Linked DNA regions of Homo sapiens: region 2 is linked to region 1. The links are contacts of gene promoters, found by promoter capture Hi-C in blood cells and fetal thymus (Javierre and others, 2016). All regions are on one chromosome and are shown on one strand. Each heading gives the region's core, a stretch centred on a gene start or on the middle of the fragment in contact. The rest is flanking DNA. Distances are from core to core; before and after follow the strand shown.

Region 1 (6,543 bases), core at 2,161-4,660:
AGAAACACCCAAGAATGATCAATAAAAGAAAAAAAAAAGAAAACAAATTCTAAGAGGTTATAAAAGGTTTATGGAAATTTTATCTTGTCTAGTCAAAGCTGATCAAGATTAGACAGATTTGTTTGTAAAGTTTATTAAAATCAGCTTTAGTATTAAAAGCACATTAATACATATATATTATATATAAAATATATTTTTTTAATTTTATTTATTTATTTATTTTGAGACAGAACTTTGCTCTTGTTGCCCAGGCTGGAGTGCAATGGCACGATCCTGGCTCACTGCAACCTCTGCCTCTCAGGTTCAAGTGATTCTCCTGCCTTAGCCTCCAGAGTAGCTGGGATTACAGGCACCCACCACCACACCCAGCTAATTTTTTGTATTTTTAGTAGAGACGGGGTTACACCATGTTGGCCAGGCTGGTCTCGAACTCCTGAGCTCAGGAAATCCACCCGCCTCAGCCTCCCAAAGTGCTGGGATTACAGATGTGAGCCACCATGCCTGGCCAAGTGTCTTATTTTCAAGGAGGATCATGGAAAGCATGGGAAGAATGCTGACAAATAAAGGTTTCTGATAACTTTGAAACTGTATCACCGGACTGGGTAAAAATTTCCAAAGTCTAATGAAAATAAAACTGGACTCATAAAATTGCTAACCTCCAGACTAATGTTTTCCATTTTTCACCCACTCTTCTGACTTAGAATCACTAAAAATTAAAACGGCCTTTTTTAGCTTGGCGCAGTGGCTCACACCTGTAAATCCCAGCTCCTTAGGAAGCCAAGTCAGGAGGATCCCTTGAGCTCAGGAGTTCAAGACCAGCCTGGGCAACATCAAGAGACCCCACCTTGAAAAAAAATTTTTAAAAATTAGCCAGGTGTGTAGTGCATGCCTTTGGTTCCAGCTACCTGGAAAGCTGAGGTGGCAGGATGGCTTTGCCCAGGAGGTTAAGACTACAGTGAGCCATGATCACATCACTGCACTCCAGCTTGGATGACAGAGCAAGACCTTGTCTCAAAAAAAAATCCAAAAAACTAAAAACCCTGCCTTTTTCCTAAGGCCTTACCAGCTAAAGCTAGTCAACGTGACTTTGAAAAAAAAATCACCACAAAAGCTTATATTTGGACAAACTTTACACACAACCTACAATCTAGGAAAATAGATTGCTATTAATCTTCCCAATTGACTGCCCTCCAGACTCTAAAGAAACTAGTTTATAGACTATACCAGATATTAAGCTTTGTTTGTCTTGTTCCATAGAAATGTCTCTCTTATTAAATACCTGTTTGCCTACATCATATACAGAGGCCTAGCTTTGAGAACTCATCTACAATGCCATCTTCTGAAATGAGACACAACAATTTAATTGAACTGGACTATCCCCCAAAATGAGAGGCTGGTTTAATGGGATCCTTTGCCGCTCAATTACTAGCCCGATTTCTCTCTCCACAGACACCAACTCAGCTTATAGTGAAACTTCTAAGGAAGTTTCAGACAAAGGAAATAAAGAAGACCAGGGACTCACACCCCAAAATATGGCATCCTGTATGCTAATCATTTTAAATTAAAGGTCCCTGGAAACCAGCAGATACTGGAAGCAGCTTTACTCTGATAACTACCTTATCTGCCTAAAGTCCAGACCTGTCAAAGAAGACAACAATTACTTCTGGTCTCTTCCCTGAGTTTTCATTAACTTACTTCAGTACAAGAAGAAAGATGGAAGCCTGTCAACACACCTGGACAGATTTTTGTCAGAAACCATTGTCTGCTCTGCAGGCCCAACAGTCATTGTCCCAGGCCACTGTATGTTCTCCAGGCCACTGAATCACCCTAAAAATCATTTACGATCCACCTTAAAATCACCCACATTTTCCCATCTCCCATATTCCTATGAAAGAGGGTATATAAGCATCTGTACCCCACTGGGTCATTCTCCTGCAATTCCCTCATGCTATGCACGTTAAAATAAAATTTCTATGCCTTTCTCCTATTAATGTGCCCTTTGTCGGTTGATTTTTCAACAAACCCTCAGAGAGCAAAGGGGAAGCTTTTCCTTGGCCCCTACATGCTATATGGCAGAAGGGAAAGTGCTTTAAGTTTATGTTCCGAGCAGTCCCTCCACCCATACCAAGGAAGCACAGCAAGGAGCTTGGGACACTTCCCAAAGAAATCCCAAAGATTTCTTTACAACGTATTTTTTACAATTCCTTTACAGTAGCCCCCAAATTTTATCCACTTTCGCATCTTCAGGATCAAGCAGAGTGCCTAGAGTGTACACTCTAGAAATGTTTATTGAATTAAGAAGCGGCTGACAGTGTTGTGCAGGTAGTGTGGCCAGAAGAGTAGTTTCAAGTCCCAGGCACTCATTAGTTGTATGACCTGGGGCAAGTCACCTAAATATACCGAGATCCATTTCTTCACCAATGAAACAGGAATATTACTACTTGCCTTGTCTACCTTACTGGCTCCTCAGGAGGCTTTACATAATGAGCGGCACTGTAAAACGTTATACACGTGTATGTACAGTTTTGATAGGGCTGTTAATTAGTCTCAATGGTGAAACAGAAAGAAACCTGGACTCAACAGTCAAAAGCTGTTGGGCCGTTGTGCATGGGCTACGACTAACATGTTCCGTTTTCCCATCTTAAACACAAAGTTTAGACTCGATGATGGTTCGGACCCTGCACTTAATAGTCTCTAAGTCCGCTACAGGCTCGGAACCTCAGGTGTCCTCAGAGAGGTAAACCCCAGGGTTCCCAGATACACCTGCAAGGGCAGGGACAGTCAAGGTCGCGGGGTACTAACACGCGGGAGGCTCACCCAGTCAAAGTCACACGGGTTACCGTCTTCGCGTTGGGTGGGCAGACCGTGGCAGAGCGGCGGCAGTTTCCTCACGAGTAGGAAGGCAGCAGAGAGCAGGGCCGACAGAAGGTAGTAAGGTTGGGCGAGCCATCGTGAAAGTCGCGGCACCGAATACACGAGAGCAATTAGAGGTGCCAAGACCGCCATCTTTTCGGCCGTAACGGCCACTGCTCGCCGGCGTCGTAGGTCTCGCCCCGCCTCCCCCACCATAACGACTGCTATTGGGCTATATCGCAAACGTACGGCCTCTAAACCCGGATGTAGTTCTCTGAACGCTGTGGTAGGTCAGAACCCAAAAAAGAACTTAATATTTTATTGGTTAGTCTAGTTGTCGCTTTATCCGCCTAAGTCATTTTATTGGACTGTAGCAAGCAGAGCTAGCAGAAGACTCTAATAAGGTTAAATAGCACTTCCTGAACGTTCTCATAAGGCGACGGAAGTAGTTGTTGAAAAAAGGTAGGCGGTGCCTGAGGCATCCAATGACAAGCGGCTCCTTGAGAAAGGGCGGGGGGGTACTCCTTGAAAGCATTGTCCAATGAAAATTACCAACGGCAGACACGGAGACAGCGCCGGGGCGGAGGGTACGATGGAGAATTTCACGGCACTGTTTGGGGCTCAGGCTGACCCACCACCGCCCCCAACCGCACTCGGCTTCGGACCAGGAAAGCCTCCACCCCCGCCACCGCCTCCTGCGGGCGGGGGACCCGGCACGGCCCCGCCTCCCACCGCGGCCACGGCTCCTCCTGGCGCGGACAAGTCAGGAGCTGGCTGTGGCCCTTTTTACCTCATGAGGGAACTGCCAGGTGAGTACTCGGCCTTGCCAAAGCCAGCCAATCAAATCTTAGAGAGGAGGTGATGGGCGTGGCTCTCAGCCGGCTAGCGGAGGTGCGAGGTAACCTAGGCAACGCATACCCGGACTGTGGAGCCCTAAGTCGGAAGCGCTGTTAGGATTCACAAGCAGAGGGATGACTTGAATTCAACCAGGATGAGTTGAATTCAACCAAAGGGATGAATGGCGGGCAGGGGCGTAGTGCATCTCCGTTACTGTCTTTTGCACCATGTCCAGGCTGTGTCCCTGACACTGGTTTATGTCTCTCTAAAAAATGACCTAGGGCTGGGCGCGGTGGCTCACGCCTGTAATCCCAACACTCTGGGAGGCGGAGGCGGGCGAATCACCTAAGGTCAGGAGTTCGAGACCGGCCTGGCCAACATGATGAAACCCTGTCTCCACAAAAAACACAAAAATTACCTGGGCGTGGTGGCGTATACCTTTAATTCCAGCTACTCGGGAGGCTGAGGCGGGAGAATCGTTTGAACCCCGGGAGGCGGAGGTTGCAGAGAGCCGACATTGCTCCACTGCACTCCAGCCTGGGCGAACGAGACTCCGTCTCAAAACAAACAAAATCCAGGGTTTGAGTTTGGAACTCGAGAGGCCTGATTTAATATCTTTGGGGACCCAAAGTTTTAGTTACAGGTCTCCCACAGACTTGCTATTGGTTTGGGGCAAGTTGCCATTCTTCCTTCTAAGGTTCCGGCATTTCCTGGTCTGATCAAAAAAGGGATAAGAATCGAACCAAACTCTTCATTCAAAAAATTATTTTGTTGAGTACCTATGTACCAAGCACTTTTCTAAATGCTGGAGACAGTTGTGAACAAGACTGACAAGATGCTTGCCTTTTTTGGGATGTACATTTCAGTGGAGGAGGCATTGTAAACAAGATAATGTCAGAAAGTGGTTAATGCTAGGAAAAGAAAACATGATAAAAATTGAAGGTGGCCAGGCGCGTTGCTCACGCCTGTAATCCCAGCGCTTTGGGAGGCCGAGGCAGAATCCCTTGAGCCCAGGAGTTTGAGACCAGCATGGGCAACATGGCGAGACCCAGTCTCTACAAAATATACAAGATTAACCGGGCGTGGTAATGCATGCCTGTAGCCCCAGCTACTCAGGAGGCTAAGGGAGGAGAATCGCTTGAACACAGGAGGTCGAGGCTGCAGTGAACCAAGATTGTGCCACTGCACTCCAGCCTGGGCAACAGATGAGACCCTGTCTCTTAAAAAAAAAAAATTGAGGGGCAGAACTACTTTAGCTAGAGTGGCCAGAGATGCTCTCTTCACATAGCTAACATTTGAACTAAAATGTAAGCATAGACAAAGGGCCAGCCATGTATGGACAGGAGGGAGAGACAATTGTAGATACAAGAAATGAGGTCAGAAACCCTGATGTGAGAAAAAGCTTAGAATATCTGAGGGACAGAAAATCAGTTGGACTCCAGTGAAGTGAACAAAAGGAAAGAGTGTTAGGGAGAGAGATGAAGCTGGGAGAGTTAGGCAGAGGCTTTTATAAAGCAGTAAAGGCATTTAGATTGTAAATACAAAAGGAAGCCATTTAAAAAATTTTTTTATAGACACAAGGTCTCACTGTGTCACCCAGGCTGGACTGCAGTGGTATAATCATAGCTCACTGTAACCTCCAGTTCCTAGGCTCATGCTGTCGTCCCACCTCAGCCTTCCAAGTAGCTAGGACTACAGGCATGCACCACCACAGTTGGCTAACTTAAAATTTTTTTGTAGAGACTGGGTCTTACTGTGTTGCGCAAGCTGGTCTTGAACTCCTGGCCAACAGCAGTCCTCCCGCCTTGGCCTCCCAAAGTGCTAGGATTATAGGTCTGAGCCACTGTGCCCAGCCAAGGAAAGCCATTTTAACATAGGAAGTTGGTCAAATGCACTTGTTTATAATCATTTAAGCAGCCACATGACAAATAGAAAGTGGGGAAATTAGTCAGAAGTTACTGCTCAGTAGTCCAGGAAAGATAATGGTTTGAACCAGAGCATAGCAGGGCATAGAGAAGTAAATGGATACAGGATGTTAGAGGTAGAGCTGACAGGGTTGAAAAATTGAATACAGGGCCAGGCGCTGTGGCTCACGCCAGTAATCCCAGCACTTTGGGAGGCTGAGGTGGGAGGATTGCTTGAGCCCAAAAGTTTGAGACCAGCCTGGGCAACATAATGAGACCCCATCTCTACAAAAAATAAAAATAAATTAGCTAGGGATAGCAGCATGCACCTGTAGTCTCAGCTACCTAGGAAGATGAGGTGGTAGAAATCACTTGAGCCCAGGAAGTTGAGGCTGCAGTGAGCCATGATTGTGCCACTGCACTCCAGCTTGGATGATAGAGGAAGACCCTGTCTCAATTAAAAATATATATTGTATATAGAAGTGAAGGAAATAGAGGAATTGATGCCTTTTTAAGTTTTCGGCTTGAATAATTGGGTGTATGGGTACGGAGACTTGGAAGATGAGGAAGGAACAAGTTTGAAGAGGTGGAAATCAAGAGTTATTTTGGACATGTTTGGTCTCCAAGATGCCTCTTTTTTTTTTTTTTTTAAACAGAGTTTTGCTCTTGTTGCCCAGGCTGGAGTGCAATGGCACAATCTCAGCTCACCACAACCTCCGCCTCCCAGGTTCAAGCGATTCTCCTGCCTCAGCCTCCCGAGTAGTTCGGATTACAGGCATGTGCCACCACACCCAGCTAATTTTTTATTTTTAGTGGAGACAGGGTTTCTCCCTGTTGGTCAGGCAGATCTCAAACTCCCAACCTCAGGTGATCCGCCCACCTTGGCCTCCCAGAGTGCCAGGATTACAGGCGTGAGCCACTGCGCCCAGCCTCCCAGATGCCTTTCATT
Region 2 (6,543 bases), core at 1,876-4,375, 1.0 Mb before region 1:
TGCAGATGCTGGAGAAATCCTTGAGGAAGAGCCTCCCAGCATCCTTAAAGGTGATAATGGAAAATTCTGAGAGGAGTAAAGAAGACAAACTTGATGTGAAAGAGGAGGGAAAGGGACTGATATTTATGATGCACCTATTTTGAGCCAGGCACTATTTCATGTTTTCTCTCATTTAGTATGCCTTACCTCTCTACAAGATGTTTACTGTCATGTCCATGTTGCTGTTAAGAAAATGAAGACTCAGTTAACTGATTTTCTCAATATATCACAAATACTGAGTTGCAATGCTATGATATGAACATAGTTATGCCTTAGTCTAAACACTGCCTTTTGCTCTGTGCTAACTCAAAAAATTACTTCCTTGCTCCTTTCCAAGAAGCATTTTATAATAACATTTGAAATTTGCCCAGAGTTCTACAAAGTTGGCTGAGGCTGCATATTAATGTTTAACTTGTTTATTACAAAAGGACACTTGCCAGTGAGAGGTTAACTAGAATGAGTCTTCTTTGAAATTAATAACAGATCAATTTCTATTTTAATGTAAATTTCCCAATTGCTCTGAATTGAAGGCAGGTCGAGTTACTTTAGGGCTAGCTCCCAGTATCTCTCTTAACCTGGTATTAATAATTAGAGGTCTAAGAATTAAATAAAACAAATATAAATATATATATATAAATGGATATATATAAATGCCTACATCCAGAACTATGCAAGAGCAGTTCCAATGATAGAGTCAGATTCTTGTCTGTATGTATATATTTAGCAACCAAATGGATATGGCTCACTCCAATGGAACCCAAGTACAATTGTTCATGTATATGTGTGTGTGTATCTCTTTAGTGGACAATTATTTTTACATTTGTATTGTTTTAGAAGACATTCCTATATAGTGCATACATTTCAGGTAAATACATTCAAATTACCCATTCCCTAAATGATTTGTTATTCCCTTCTTTCAGTATAAAGGAGAAAATATTAGCATTCTTTTATTTGTGATTATATAGTTTTATTTTCATTCATCAGAGATGCATTGAGACAACAAGCTTTATTCTTTATTTATTAACAACACAGTATAGCTTCAAGTAAACTAATCCAAATCTAAAGTTACCCACCTTGAAGCTCCTACTAACATTAATCAAAATTACCTAATATTTAAGTGGCTTCACATGACAATCCTTAAGATATAAATAACCTCCCAGAGAGACAGAACATTTTTTTTGGAAGGCATATTAGTTAAGACACTGTATGTATAATTAGTTGAGGTATTTTTATGATTAGTGGCTACTCTTAAAAATTCTCTAGGCTAAACATTTTGTTCAACACTCTGTGATGTAGAATTTTGTGCTTCAAATTTCTCCTTATTCCTTGTGTTAAGTGGATCCTAAACATTTTGAGAAAACTCTAGGTGTTTCCCAAGGATTCCTTCTTGGGACCCCTCTATGGTGAGATAAGGAGGCCCTCATGACTCCTCCCTTTCATGAGGAAATAGCATTCCTCCTCTTTTGTTGTATACTAAAAGACATACATTTTCCCCTAATGGAACTCTAAAATTTTTTATGCCAGTTGCTTTTAATGGAGGTGTCTAACCTAGAATTCACTGTTACTCAACAATTACTTGAGGCCTAGTTAAGAAAATGTCCATCCATTCTTCTGAGTGTTAGATATAAAATGCATAAAGATGTCCACTACAACTGATTCAACTGATAACAGCTGCCTCGCTATGTTCTGTTCACTAGTGTGAAAGGAAAATATCTTGGGCCCCCAAAATCACTAAAGAAAACTCAAGCTGGAAACTGCTTAGGGCAAACTTGCCTCCCATTCTATTTATTCAAAGTTGCTAAGATAGATGCATATCTGATTGCCTCTTTGGAAAGGCTAATCAGAAACTCAAAAGAATGAATTGTTTGTCTCACATATCTGTGACCTGAAAGCTTTCTCCCTGCTTCAAGTCTTCCTGCCATTGCTTCAAAATGTCCCTTCTTCAATATGTCCCACCTTTCCAAACCGAACCAAAGTACTTCTTACATATATTGATCGAGGCCTCATATCTCCCTAAAATATATAAAACCAAGTGTGCCCTGACCACCTTGGGCACATGGCATCAGAACTTCCTGAGGCTGTGTCAGTGGCACATCCTCAACCTTGGCAAAGTGAACTTTCTAAATTAACTGAGACCTGTCTCTGATTTTTGGGGTTTAGATTTTGGTAACCATGGGAGCATTCTGAGTGGAGATGCCCCTGACCTTTGACAAATCTCCTATCGGTGCTTGGTACCAGTATGGCTGACTTTATGGCTCAAACTAATAGGACAATTTGCTGAGGTCTGTGAGCATCCCCTCCAGAGAATCCCTGATCTCCCCAAATTTGGTCAAATTATTAAGTTTATTTATTCCTAATTAGATGGGGAGGAAGGTCTCTTTGAAGAGGAACCTCTACTTTACTTTTTACACAACTAAAGTTAGCATTTAACAACTACCTGGTGTTAATTTCTGCTTACACTTACGGTGCTCAGAAATCATGTAATTTGGGTGATCATTGTTAGTTTTGCTTAACTTTTTTGTTCTTTGTATTTTTCTTGGACAAATTGAAAGGAGAACTCTAAATTATGAGGAACAAGACCTCTGATGTGGGAGGAAAATGGCTAGCAAAAGAGAAAAAAAAAAGATTTTGAATTTTAACTACTAAAGGGGCTTTATTTACATTATAAGGTCACCTTTTTGCCAGCCAGACCAAACTGAAAGAGCAATGGCTGTACTTCTGAAAAAGCAGCATTTGGTCCTAACTGAAATATGGTAATAAGATTTTTTTAAAAAAATTAAGGAGCTCAATTGTTAAAAGTCAGCTTAATTAAAAGGCTAACATCCAAGATGTATGTGTGTATGTGTTCATGTGTGCATGTTTGTATTTGAAGGCCTTCATGTTTTTATTTTTGTTTCTTTTTCTCTCCTAAGACCTTGTCTATTTTCGAGCAAAAGTTTTTTTGTTTTGTTTTGTTTTCCTTCTCAGTTGACTGAATTCTGTTTTCACCTGATTTTTTTTTAACTAAAATAGTTATTGCAACAAAGGCTACGTGGTTATTTAAGAAAAAAATGAAGTTTAATTTTATTTTTAATTTGGCTAAAAGAAAAATAAAAACATCTCCTTCTATCATCACCAGACTTTTTCTCTCTGTACCTTATGTTGTAAATTTTACTATTTGATTTTCACCTGAGTTGTTTCCTTTAATGTGCAAATTTAAGGCTATTTTTCTGACAGCTGCCTAGGGTTTTGAAACAGGTTACCAAGAATCTGAAATTCTAAGATAGAAAAAAAAAGTGGGGTGATCTTTATAAATCTATAAAATGTACTTCCGTTGGCATGCCTAATTCATCTTTATATGTATTTATGTATTGTATACAAAATATTTCACTACTAAAAATATATAAAGTGTTCTAATTAATTGACTTAAAGAAAAAACAAAAGTGCTTAAATGCGATACTAAAAAAGAAAAGACTATTAAAATCCTTTTTCAAGTTTATGTAACTTAAATAAAATCTTTAATAAATAAGCTAGCTTTAAAATTTTTGGTAAAGTAATAGTAGAAATGTCTTAAGAATTACCAGCATACATTTTGTTTGCATTTATTAATCAAGCAAATTTCATACTTATCCCTGCCAAATACTATAAGTTGTCAATGTTTGGCATACAGGTTACATAACTATGAACCCAGCCCCAAACAGGATAATCATTGCTTGTGTAATTTTTAATAAATAATGCATTGATATGGGTTTAATGAAAATAGCTGCATCTTTAATTTAGTAAGATCACCATAACTTCTAATCCTGTGGGTTTAGGCAGTCTGGTCCACAGTCAATAAGGAGGTTTGTTTGGGGAAAAGACTGTTATCCTCTTTGTTTCAAAGCTAAACTATAAACCAAGTTCCTCCCAAAGTTAGTTAGGCCTACGTCCAGGAATGAATGAGGACAGCTTGGACGTTAAAAGCCAGATGGAGTCAGTTAGGTCAAATCCGTTTTCACTGTCTCAGTTATAATCTTGCAATGTCAGTTTTATAACTTTAAATCATGAATATCACAGTTTTCATAAATAATCCAGGTAAACAATTAAAATAATTGGGGTAATGTAATTGGATAAATATTTGTAGGCAAATTGGTCATAATTTAGAGTATGAAATTATATTAAATTAAATAATAGACATTTCATTATTTGGGTATCTTCCCATAAAAATATATTGTAGGAAAATATTCTTGCTAAAAAATAAACAAAACTGTGTGTGTGTTTTTTAAAGAGGTGAACAAGTTTTTTTCCAATTCAAAGCTTATTTAAAGGTTATGTATAAAACAAGGTAAAAGGGACTAGGACTAAAAAAAGATATGAAAAAGCTATTTTTAACAAAGGTTTTTTTAGGTAAAAAAGCTTAAAGAGAAATAATTTTATATAAGACAGAATCTTGTGTGGTAAATTTAATCCTAAACTAAAATAAGTGGTTGTTTAAAAAAGAGGGATGTTCAGGACAAACCAGAAATTCCAAGCATGTCATGAACAGTCGGTGTAAGTCACAATAAGAGGATTTCTATATTTAAAAAGTTTATATGATCAAGTTATCATATTAAGTTTTCATTTGCTTAGAAAAAAACTGAGATAAAATTTTTTAATTAAGATTATTACATCCATGTATCTTCCTGTATATGCTTTTAAAGTCCTTCTAACATTGAATCACAGAGCTTTAACTCCTGCATCTATAAAGCATACCAAGTCCTGCTAAATTTTAAACACTGACAGCAATTAAAGCCTCATCTTCAGGCCCTGTAGAAAATGCCAATCAAAATAAACTGCCTTCCTGAGACACAGGGCAATAAATTAAAGCTACTCAACTCCTCAAGGCCCAGGGACTATCATGGAGGAGTTGGGCATGTAAGAGTGTAATGCCTGATTTTGAAAGATAAAATAAGTTTCATTTCTCCGTAAATTAATCATTAATGTCAAAGGAACACTGATGAAAAACCAGCATATAGACCCCTGTGGCAGATTAACAAGGCTCTCTTGAAGCATTAACCAACTCTTTAATAAAGGTTATAAGAGGCTTAAGGAAGTTACATTTTATAATATAGATTAAATTTTATAGATTGTTTACAAATTTTGAAAAACAAATGTAATTAGCTTCATGCTGTTTTTATTGGGGCTTCTTGTTTAGAAAATTAAATTTCCTTTCTCAAAAAATGAAGGTTTTCACTGTTTTTTGAAGTCTTTGACTTTCACTTTAGTTAAATAAATGACTTTAAAATGACCTATAATCCTATTTTGTAATTTCAAGTGTTTTAAACTTACATTTGACAACTTTCCAAAATTGAACTATAAATTATGTCTTTTTCTGACCTGATTAATTCTTTAAGACAGTAGGTTCCCCTAAGTACAAAAATGACACAATTTGGCTTATTTGGTATAAAAATTATACAGAAGGCATTGCCAAATATGAATTGGTGTTTGGTTTTCTTTGGGCTGTCTTTGTATAAATATGTTATTGGTATGTGTTCCAAAATTATGGGAAACTCCTGTAATTATAATATAATTTAGTATACATTATCAATAATAATCATATTGTGTGCCACAGAGGTAATAAATTTTCTTGTCAATTGTATCTTTTGACAATGGCTGCCTTAAACCTTTTTTTAATCCATGGAAAATTATTGTCTTGTTTTGGTCATCTTTAGAAGGTGGTTTTATAATCAGCTATAAAACTCCAACAGGTGCTCTTAAATGTGGGTTTCTGATACTGTGTGCCACAGAAGTAATAAATTTTCTTGTCAATTGTGTCTTTTGACTATGGCTGCCTTAAACCTTTTTTTCATCCATGGAAAATTGTTGCCTTGTGTTGGTCCTCTTTAGAAGGTGGTTTTATAATCAGCTATAAAACTCCAACAGGTACTCTTAAATGCAGGTTTCTGATAACTTTGGAGATTGTGACATCAGAATAGAGAAAAAACTTTCAGGACTCATAGAGAGATAAAATGTTAATGAGTATCAAGCAAAATAGGAATTAACTACATGGACTGAACCAATCTTTTTCACATTTTACTTAAAATGTTTGCTGATCCTTTGATTTTCAGTCTTAAAACTTTTCTTTTGAGCTATTGACAGCTTTTAACAATTTAGTATACTCCTATGAACAAACTTTGGAGCATGTTTGTTTCTCTCTACCTCACTTCTCCAGAATTTGGAAATTGTGAGTATTCTTAACTTATGGTAATACATTTATTTGCATAAGTGCAATAAGAATCTGTTTTCATTTGTAACAGGAAACAATTGGAGAAACTGGTTATTTTACTAAGGCTTTAACTGCTTTCCTTTAAGAAATCAAACTTGACTTCTGGAGCCAATAAAGCCCTTGAAAAAAATGTCCATATATTTTGTGTACACAGTCCCTGTACAGGATTTCTGACTGTGGTAAATAAAGAATGTCACTTTCTAACAGACACAGAAGCCCCAGATTTAACATGGAACCTCAAGAGGAGAAGAAATTCATCCAACTCATAGGTATTTGATGGC

Evidence for each region. Contacts are between HindIII fragments. The CHiCAGO score rates a contact against its expected background, and 5 or more counts as called.
Region 2: a fragment that was not itself captured here is called in contact with the fragment with the promoter of MED19 in region 1 in 1 of 17 cell types (non-activated CD4 T cells); the score reaches 5.0 in non-activated CD4 T cells.

The regions. Positions count from the first base shown.
Region 1 is chr11:57,709,082-57,715,624 of GRCh38, reverse strand. MED19 (mediator complex subunit 19) reads left to right here and starts at 3,410. Exons shown (of 5, transcript NM_001317078.4): 1 at 3,410-3,662. The coding sequence starts at 3,446. TMX2 (thioredoxin related transmembrane protein 2) reads right to left here and starts at 3,032. Exons shown (of 8, transcript NM_015959.4): 1 at 2,818-3,032. The coding sequence starts at 3,006. TMX2-CTNND1 (TMX2-CTNND1 readthrough (NMD candidate)) reads right to left here and starts at 3,102. Exons shown (of 21, transcript NR_037646.1): 1 at 2,818-3,102. RefSeq lists an enhancer at 1-72 and a silencer at 3,440-3,779. The HindIII fragment of the contact is 3,048 bases long and covers 2,047-5,094 here.
Region 2 is chr11:58,717,923-58,724,465 of GRCh38, reverse strand. It overlaps GLYAT (glycine-N-acyltransferase), which reads left to right. Exons shown (of 6, transcript NM_201648.3): 2 at 1-50. Among named protein-coding and RNA genes, the nearest start is that of GLYAT, 11 kb to the left of the region's middle. The HindIII fragment of the contact is 2,383 bases long and covers 1,934-4,316 here.